2 separate regions of the Homo sapiens genome follow, and region 2 is linked to region 1. The links are contacts of gene promoters, found by promoter capture Hi-C in blood cells and fetal thymus (Javierre and others, 2016). All regions are on one chromosome and are shown on one strand. Each heading gives the region's core, a stretch centred on a gene start or on the middle of the fragment in contact. The rest is flanking DNA. Distances are from core to core; before and after follow the strand shown.

What was found. The method cuts DNA at HindIII sites, captures the fragments that hold promoters and counts their contacts. A CHiCAGO score of 5 or more calls a contact.
Region 2: a contact is called between a fragment that was not itself captured here and the fragment with the promoter of FERD3L in region 1, in 3 of 17 cell types (M0 macrophages, M1 macrophages and megakaryocytes). The highest score is 6.3, in M0 macrophages.

What each region holds. Positions count from the first base shown.
Region 1 is chr7:19,142,583-19,147,282 of GRCh38, reverse strand. FERD3L (Fer3 like bHLH transcription factor) reads left to right here and starts at 1,862. Exons shown (of 1, transcript NM_152898.2): 1 at 1,862-2,501. The coding sequence starts at 1,921. The coding sequence ends at 2,421. RefSeq lists enhancers at 816-1,464, 1,930-3,129. The HindIII fragment of the contact is 4,985 bases long and covers 1,727-4,700 here.
Region 2 is chr7:19,434,415-19,439,609 of GRCh38, reverse strand. No RefSeq gene overlaps it. Among named protein-coding and RNA genes, the nearest start is that of MIR3146, 270 kb to the left of the region's middle. The HindIII fragment of the contact is 1,565 bases long and covers 1,872-3,436 here.

The sequences.
Region 1 (4,700 bases), core at 613-3,112:
CATAGCCACTGTTGACAATCCTATTATTTATTTTTCAGCCTTCCCTTTGAAAGATGCTTAGCAAAAATCAACTAAGTAACAACCAAAGATCTCATTCTCTTTAACATCTTCCAGGATCACAAATTTCAATTATTCTCTGCCTGAGTTATCACAATTCAAACTGGAGAATGAAGAGTAAACACAAGCAAAAGAAGATAAAATCTATTAAAAGATCGAGAGACACCAGACACAAATGGGTTAAAAGAAGAAGAAGAATTAAAGGTTATACTGTTTTGATTACACACATAGAGGCTAGGAAGAAGAAAATGAATTGAGATTACCTGTTAGAAATAGGCGGTTTCTGGTTTCTGGGAGCTGTCCAATGTACTGAGTGAACCATCATAACCACAACTTACCCCCTTAATAGGGACTGACGTCCTGGGCAGTTCTCTTTTGAACCGGGATGTTTCTACATTCATCTTTTTAGGCTATTTCTTCCAATCTACCTTTAAAATTATCTTCTAATCTGTCACTTTGACACAATGGGTCTTTTAAATAAATCTTTACACAGTACTGAATAATTAAGTAAATATAGTTATTGGCAAACAAAGAAAAAGAACCTTTTTGTTAAAATATTTGGGATACTCGAGATAATATAAAATGAGTAATCTCTTATTTTTCTTATGCCAAATTTAAAATCTCTTTCTTTTCTCAAAAATAACGATCTAACGATAGCCAAAAACTCCCTTAAATATATTTCAATAAATCATTGTTTCTGCACTTAAGTCTTACTGTAGGACAATACAAATCAATGAGGAAAATACGCCAGATGGAAGTGTTAGGTTTTTTTCTTTGTTCGGGAACAAATACTCGATCCGCAATTTAAAAGTCCGAAGACTCCTCAGCAGAGGGTGAGCTGATTGACTCTTTGGCTTATCAAGGGCAAATCGCATTTCTGAAAAGAGCTTGAAGTGGTTTTGTTTGTGAGGAGAGTTTGCTTTGTCCCCCACACTGAAAAGTATACAGCAAAGCCCGAGCATAGAAAATATCCTGAGCTTAAATTTCTCATTTTATTGCCATCATAACTTTTCCTCTTGGAATAAAATCCTCTATTTTATATGAGTAGGAGGTAAAGGTAGGGAAAGGAAAGTCAAGTATCTCAATTGTTACGCTGATTGCATCCAAACAGACTTTAGAAGTCAGGGTTTGTAACGTGGCAGGAGAGCTGTTTGCGATGCCCTGGAAAGAAAAGAAAGCCGGTTCCAACAGCGACTCTGGGGAATGCACTCTCGGTCCCCCTGCCATGCTTACTTAAGCTAATTGAAGGTCTTGCCTTTCAGCAGCCGCTGCACTGGGATACCAGACAAACAGCTCCCCTTGATGCCAGGCAGGCAGGGCCCCTCTTCAGGACATCATTAAAAGCACATGCACTTGCTCCACATCCATTGGCAGATGGTGGCAAGATTCAAGACTCCTACCCTGAAGTCAAGGAGAAGCCATCGCGGTGGAAAACATCCTCGCTTTGAAAATCCAACACGAAATTAAAGAACTACACGAGATAAGGAGCCTGGAGAACATTAGTTGGCTGCAGGGGTGAAGACAGACACAAAAAGCACAGCAGGTAAGAGCTGGGGGTTGTTGCCAACAAGGAACTGTCCCGGGTGGCGCAGAGAAAAGGATCTCAGAACTGGAGCCCTGTCCCTTTGAGTCTTCCATGCGTGCTCAAGCTTGTCATCTTCCATAAGCTTCGAGAGAAGGGACGTTGTCAGAGCATTCCTTATCGGTGCGACTAATCCTGTTATCAGCTTGGTTATAAATATTTAATGTTCCCTGGCCTTTCGGTGATGGTGCCCCATCAGATTCAAGGCTGTTAAGAATCCCCACCAGCAACCTCGCCCCTCCCTGCGGAAAACCGATGAGAGGCAGGGCCAAGCCGAAGCGATGGCGGCCTATCCGGAGAGCTGCGTGGACACTACGGTGCTGGACTTCGTCGCAGACCTGTCCCTGGCCTCCCCGAGACGCCCTCTCCTCTGCGACTTCGCACCCGGGGTCTCCTTGGGGGACCCAGCCCTTGCGCTCCGAGAGGGAAGACCCAGGAGGATGGCGCGGTTTGAAGAGGGGGACCCAGAAGAAGAGGAGTGCGAAGTGGACCAGGGGGACGGAGAAGAGGAGGAGGAAGAGGAGCGCGGAAGAGGTGTCTCCCTATTAGGCCGCCCCAAGAGGAAAAGGGTGATCACCTACGCCCAGCGCCAGGCCGCCAACATCCGCGAAAGGAAGCGGATGTTCAACCTCAACGAGGCCTTTGACCAGCTGCGGAGGAAGGTGCCCACGTTTGCTTACGAGAAAAGGCTGTCCCGGATCGAGACCCTCCGCCTGGCCATCGTCTATATCTCCTTCATGACCGAGCTCTTGGAGAGCTGTGAGAAGAAGGAAAGCGGCTGAGCCTGGTGTGGAGAGTCTGCCCTTCCTCGTCTGGTAGTGCTGGGGTGTGTCAGGACCGGGCACTGGGTGAGGCTAAAGGGCCGGGAGGGAGGCCCCAAGACAGAACGTCTGGTCTTCTGGAGGTCGGGGTCGAGATTGTAAGATCCCCACATGCGCTGAGCAGAGTGGCTGCTGTAGAGTTCATATCTACGCGACCGCCCTAAGTGAAGTCGGGGTCAGGGGCGAGCGGGGAAGTCAGAGAGCGTGAGGCTGAGTCGGGGCCGTTCAGGCTGCTCCTAAGAGCTTCCGTGGGCTGGGTGGGTGGGAAGTGAACCCTCCTCGCAAATGGCAGACTTTGGAGCTTCTATAAAATCTAACCTCTCTTCTTTACATTTTTTTTTTCATAGAGATAATAAAGTAGAAATTCTTACGTTTTTAAAAAGCCTGAAGGGTCGGTGGTACGCCATCCCCAGCAGGCGCTCCAGCGGGCGCCTGCGTGGAGGGTCTGAAGCAGACGCCGCAAGGGTGCGGGGGTGCGAGCTTTTCTGCTAGCCAGAGGGTTCTGCCTGGTCCTCCGAGGCTTGTCCAGGAACTGAGGAAAGGAAAAATGGAAGGCAGAGCAGTCGAGAGGAACTGCTGACAAAGTGCGACCTCTGAGAAGGGACACCCTTCCTGTCTTCCATTCCCTCTCCCTCCCGTCCCTTCCTCTCTCCCGCGCGCAAGCCCTCTCTCTTCCTTTCTCCCTCCCCTTCGCCACCTAGTTGATCCCAGACGGACCACAGCTCCTTGTCCCAGGGCCACAGTGGTGTTCATTCAGTGCCTTAGCCAGAGTGCAAATCTACGCTTTGCATCTAAAGTGCAGCATCAGCTTCCGTGTTCCAGTGCCTTCTTCAGGCCCCAGGCCAGAGTAAGGGGCGAGTGCACTCGGGTCACTCCTGGGCCGCAGGGGGCCTTGGGCGCCCTGCAGCTTCGCCACCAGCCACCGCTACCAACTGTCCCCGGCCAGGGGTTGGGGTATGAAGGGGCCTGGATCTTTCTAGGAGCAGGGCCGCCTGAGCGCGCTCACTTTTACATTTTTAGCTGTAGGTAGGAAAGATAGCTTTCACTCTAATGGCTTCTAGAGACTACCAGGGGAGACAAAAAGTCCAAAGAGGAGATGCCTTCTGACGCCTTGCAAAACGCCTGCCATGCAGATGAGGTTGAAGCGGGTCCATGCTGAGAGGCCGCCTCTAGTTTGGACCCGTGCCATTCCAGGATTCTTCCTTCTAGGTGACGTGCTAGTACCAGAACTGGGGTCTTTCAGAAAGGAGTGGGTAACTGAGGCGAGGAACCCGATTGAATAATGCCAACCTAAACATAAATTCAGTAATCCTAAAGGATAATCCCCAGTGATTATTCCAACACTTTATTTCGCCCCTCATTGCACACAGAAATAGGCGGGAGCCTGTGCGAACACACAATTCTCTTAATCATGCTTTCGGAAATAGAATTCATTTCATTAATAAGTAACATATACTCATCCTAGAAATTTTGGAAAAAAAAATTTCAAAAAAGAGAAAATTCGAATCACTCCACGTTACCATACTGTTAGCATTTTCATCTATTTCTTTCCAGTCTTTTTTTCCCTGTGCAGTTATAAATTCAATATATTTTACTAATTCGAGATACTTTGGGATACTGATATTTTTCCACTTGGCATTATAGAAGGTGCAATGTTTTCCCTTAACTTTAATATTATTCAAATGTGATTTTGATTACCATATCTTATTGTCTTATCCATGTATCACACCACCACCAGCCCTTTCCAGATAGATAGCTATTTCCTTTTTAAAAAATAAATGATGCTGCTAAGAGCATTCTTGTAAATGCCTTCTCTGTCTATTATTACTTCCTAACATTTGATACCTAGAAGTGAAATTTCTGGATTCAAGTTTGTGGATATAAATGGCCAGATTCCCTTCTTGGTGGGTTCTGCCAGTTCACTCTCCCACCCTCTAGCATTGCAGGGATTTGCCTGTTTCCCAGCCCCTTCATTAGTACTTCGAATATTTAAAACTTTTCTTAGTTTTCCTTTTCATAGGACCTGGATTAGTTCTGAAACGAGCCCCCACTCCCAAGATGTTTTTTTACTTTTACTGTGTCTTTCCACCAAGAATTTTTTCAACTGCACCGTAAGAACATCAGGATAAACAGGTAAACAAAAAAAAAATACATAAACAGCTAACACCAAACAACAACAAAGCCCCATAGAGTGTTGTTTTTTCTTATTCTTCCACCAATTCAATTTCTCCTGGAAATTA
Region 2 (5,195 bases), core at 1,405-3,904, 290 kb before region 1:
AGATTTGGGTGGGACACAAAGCCAAACTATATCAGGAGTCCTTTGAAATCAAAATTTAGGGAAGAAGATTTGAGAAGAGACGGGTTAGCTGTAATTCAGTCTCAATGAAGACCTCAGCTAGGAACTCTGAAGCTAAAATGACCTTCAGACTTGTCCTGAGTTAGAATAAAGACATCAGCCTTATCCCTCATGTTGATCTGTCACTGGAAACAGGGTGTCCTGGGAAGGAGACACGGCCTTAGAAGAGGTTGCTCTCTTGACCCTAAGTAATTTCTAAGGGTTTTCAGCTGAGGGCTGTCTACCAGCAGCACTCTTAGCGTTAAAGGTAGGAAGCCCATTGTTCTTGTTCTTAAGGGAGGAACTGGGTCCACCACACCTAGGAATGCTGACTCTATTTTAAATAGCATGTTAATGCCTATTTGAATAATGACCAACTTATATGGAGCAACTAGCAAGTGCCAGAACATTGTTAGGTACTGAAGTTCAAAATGAAACAAGACAGGCCGGGCACAGTGGCTCATGCCTGTAATCCCAGCACTTTGGGAGGCCGAGGTGGGCGGATCACAAGGTCAGGAGATCGAGACCATCCTGGCTAACACAGTGAAACCCCGTCTCTATTAAAAATACAAAAAAAAAAAAAAAAAATTAGCCAGGCGTGGTCGTGTATGCCTGTAGTCCCAGCTGCTGGGGAGGCTAAGGCAGGAGAATGGCGTGAACCCGGGAGGCGGAGCTTGCAGTGAGCGGAGATTGCACGACTGCACTCCAGCCTGGGCGACAGAGCGAGACTCTGTCTCAAAAAAAAAAAAAAAAAAAAGAAAAAAGAAACAAGACAGTTCTGGCTCTTGAAAACCTAGTATATGAAATTTTTAAAATATTAAATATACACTATGGGAATATTGTAATATTGTAATATATTCATCTATATGTGAGTCCACATGCCCACTTTGTGGGCCTTGTATAGACCATCTTCTAAAAACAGTTGGACAAACTAGAGCCTATGGGCCAAATCTGGCCTGCCACATATATTTACAAGTCAAGTTTTATGGGAACAATCATTTCCACTCATATATGTATTGTCTATGGCTGCTTTTTCTCTACAAGGGCAGAGTTAGGTATTTCCAAGAGAAAGCACATGGAATGCAAAGTCAAAATATTTACTATCTGGTCTTTCACAGAAAATGTTTGCTGTTTGCTCTGAGATTTATAGTAATATGATATTATGACAGGTCTACAAAGTATACATGATAGTAATCTGGGATTTATAATTTTATTTTTTAAGAATATATTGTCCACACATTGGAGAATATGTTATCTTTGATTATTAATCACATCCTACTTCCTTATTGCATAATGCTTATACCATAAAGAAATTTTCTTTTAAATATCTTTCATGTGTCCCTTTGCATCATCATCATCATCATCATAATGCAAACTAAAAAAAGAACACATTTTGAACATAACTCTAGATAAATTTAGTCAATGGCTTGAAATATGAATTAATGGTTCGATTCCACCGTGGATGAAAATATTGTGTGGTATCCCACAGTGTTTTATATGTATTATATTATTTTCAGCATTTTTATCAGGAATTTGGACTAAAACCAAAAGCATGTTTATCCAGTACGTGTATAATACAAAGCTGTGTAGCAGTAGTTACTATATTGGATGATAGAGACAGTATTCAAAAAGATTGAAAAATATTGGAAAGATGGGCCAAAACTAACAAAGTGAAATGTAACAGGGCTAATTATGAAGTTCTATATTTGGGTTAAAAAATCAAGCCACAAATGTACAAATGCAGGATGGGAGAACACATGATGAAACAGCAGTAAAAGATGACGGAGTTTTAGGGTTATAGTTAACTGAAAGCTTAATTGTGAACCAACCCTTTGATGTGGATATGAAAATCACTCATATAATCTTAGCATGTGCTTCAATATAATTATGCATTCTGTTCAGACCAAGGTGGCTAATTGCATTGCATACTGCATTGGTCAGAAGCCATCTGGAATGATGCATTCAGTTTCAGAAGCTATGTTGTAATAGAGATCTTGACAAATGTAGTGGATGTTTGACAGTTTTTTTTCCTACCATAGATATCAGATACCTGCTTTCTCAGACCCTTGGAGCTAGATGCAGGCATAAAGCTAGGGTCTAATCAGCAGCACCTGCAGTATGAGCCAGAGATGCAAAGTAGCAGAGAATACTTGGAATTCATTCTAGTGAGGATAAAATCAGGGCTATAGATCCAATTTCTCGAAGCACTGGAGTTAAGTCAAGCACTGAATGTTGTCGGCAGTGAAAGTCATTGTGTTTGTGGAGAAGTGATGTCTTCTAGATCAGTTCTGAGTGTAATTTTATACACTGTTTCTGGCTATATATAAGGCATTATAAGGGATGGTAATCCAGACGACCTCCAGGGGCTTTCTCAACTCTAAATTTCTCGATTTGCTGTTTTTAAATGGCTTACTCTTTACAGCCTGAGAAATGTATGGGAGTATACACAGAAAGGTTATAATGCCAAGAACAAAGAAAAAATTAATGAAAGTGGATTAGGGAAGGGAAGTGGCTACAGCCTGCCTCTGTTAAATGGCTGATATCAAGTCCTTATTCTATAAGAGAAAATAAATTCAGGTTCTTAAATAGCTTGCTAATAAAATATTTCATAGGAAAGACCATGTATTATAAGCAATAGAGAGACAGGATGATTCGGCATTAAAAAAACCAAGTATATAACGTAGAAGCAGTGGCGTTTATGCTATTTGTATCATAAAATGTAATATGCCTGATGAAATTCCCTATAGAATATAAGTGGAAAATGTGCTTGTTTGAATTTTTTTCCATTTTATTTGCGCTTAATATTTATATTTTATTACTCTGTTCTATTACCCATAGTGCATTACCTGGTATTCTTTCCCTATGCAATCAATGGTTTCTGAATGGCAGAGTGCATTATGAAGAGAACATGGGCTTTGGAGTCAGGCTAGGACTGAGTTCAAGTCCCAGGCCTTCGTAACTAAGTCTATGATTGTGACTTTTGGAAATTTACTCTAGCATCCTGGGCCTGTATTTTCTGATCTGTAAAATAACAAAGAATGTATCTCACAATGTTGTCCTGAAGTATACGTAAGTTGCAGCATAGAAATGTGCACTGGTAATATTAGATCTCACACCCAGCTTTATATTTTTTTGTTACTGTCTTCATTTTCTTTGCTTGCCCAAAGAAGATGAGAATCCAATAAACTTTGGATAAAATAATTTTTTTTTGAAAATTTGTGTTCCCATTCAGCTATCTCATCCCCAAAACCCATGCCATCCCCACCCTACCCCACCCCGAAAATGACTTCCCTACTTTGAGTAATTTCTGTGATAATATTCTATCTGGAATTGTACAGAAACCAGTTACTGATTTCTAAAATTATAGTTTTATAAAGCTTATCTCATAAAGGAAGGTGCAAGAGTCCATGGTTTTTGGATATAATAAATGTGTGAGGAATGAACAGAAAAGTGGTAAATATCATATTAAGTGCTTCATAACTCAACCATAAAAGTTCTTATTTCTAGGATTAGCACTAAAATAACAGAATCTGGTTTTTGAAAGGTTTGTATGAAAACAATTGTTGATAGGAGGGAAAAAATGTATTTAAGTAAGTATTGTGTTCCTTAGATTATCATAAGGCATGTTGTCACAGAATTAGATTGTCACTATTTAAAAGACTGGAAAATGATATTTCTAGAAATAAGATTAACATATATATTACTTAAATTTTGAAACTTCAAACCCTTCTAAGAGACATAAATGAGAAATAAAGCTATATTTCTTAACAGAAAAAATATTTTAAAGATATCACTGCTCTCTAAATTATTTCATAATCACAATATGATACTAAGTTTCAATTGTAACAAATATACTACACGAATGCAAAATGTTAATAATAGGAGAAACTGTGTTTTATTGTGACTATTGTTGTCAAGTTCATCTGGAAAATATCCTAAAAGAATCAGGAAAATATTAAAAACTAATGAGGGAGTCTAGCTGTACAAGTAGAAATATAAAAGGAACTTGAAATGATTCGTTATAAAAAATACAATAATTTAATAAATATGAAGGAACAATATGATTCATAATTATATAAACACAAATGAAAATTAAATAAAATATGCTTTCTCACCCATGGGAATGGCAAAAATAGATGTGGGAAAATTGATATTATCAATTGCTACAAAATTAGGAGGGTAATTTGGCAATATTTACTGACATTTAAAATGTGCATGCCTTTGGCCTAATAATTCTACAGATAGAAATTTTTGCTGTGGATACAACAACAAAAAACAAGGACAACACAAAAATTTTAGAATTCATCAATATTTGGCAAATACTACTCAATTTTTTAAAATAATGAGATATATATCTATGTGCCAATATAGATCTCCAAGCAATGTTATCAAAATAAATCACTATGAAAATTGTGTAAATAAAAGGAGTATAGGTATGCACATATATAAGTGCACATATAAATATGCACGTATGGCCAGGTGCAGTGGCTCACACCTGTAATCCTAGCACTTTGGGAGGCGGGGGCGGGTGGATCACGAGGTCAGGAGTTCGAGACCAGCCTGACCAACATGGTGAAACCCCGTCTTTACTAAAAATACAAAAATTAGCCAGGCATGGTGGTGCGTGCCTGTAATCCCAGCTACTCAGGAGGCTGAGGCTGGAGAATCACTTGAACCCAGGAGGAGGAGGTTGCAGTGAGCCAAGATCAGACCACTGCACTCCAGCCTGGGTGACAGAGCAAGACTCCATTTCTAAATAAATAAATAAATAAATATGCACATATATTTATGTTAGTAAACAGATAATGTTCTACAAGGAAGTATAAGAACATTGCAACAATAGGAAGTAGAGTTGTAAGTCTAAGGGGAACATACTTCAATTTAATTTCTTTTTATAATGAATGCATCTTTTATCCTGTGCATTTATTACTTTTTTATTAATATATTTTATTTTTAGGGAAATGTTAGGGCATAACCATCCATGAAATGCAATATCTTTCCATTTATTTAGGTCTTCTTTGAACCTCTTCGTTAGAGTTTTATAGTTCTCTTCATATAGGTTTTGCACATATTTTATTAGCTTTACACCAATTCAGGTTTTTTGGTGGCAATATTGGTGCTAAGATAATGTTAACATA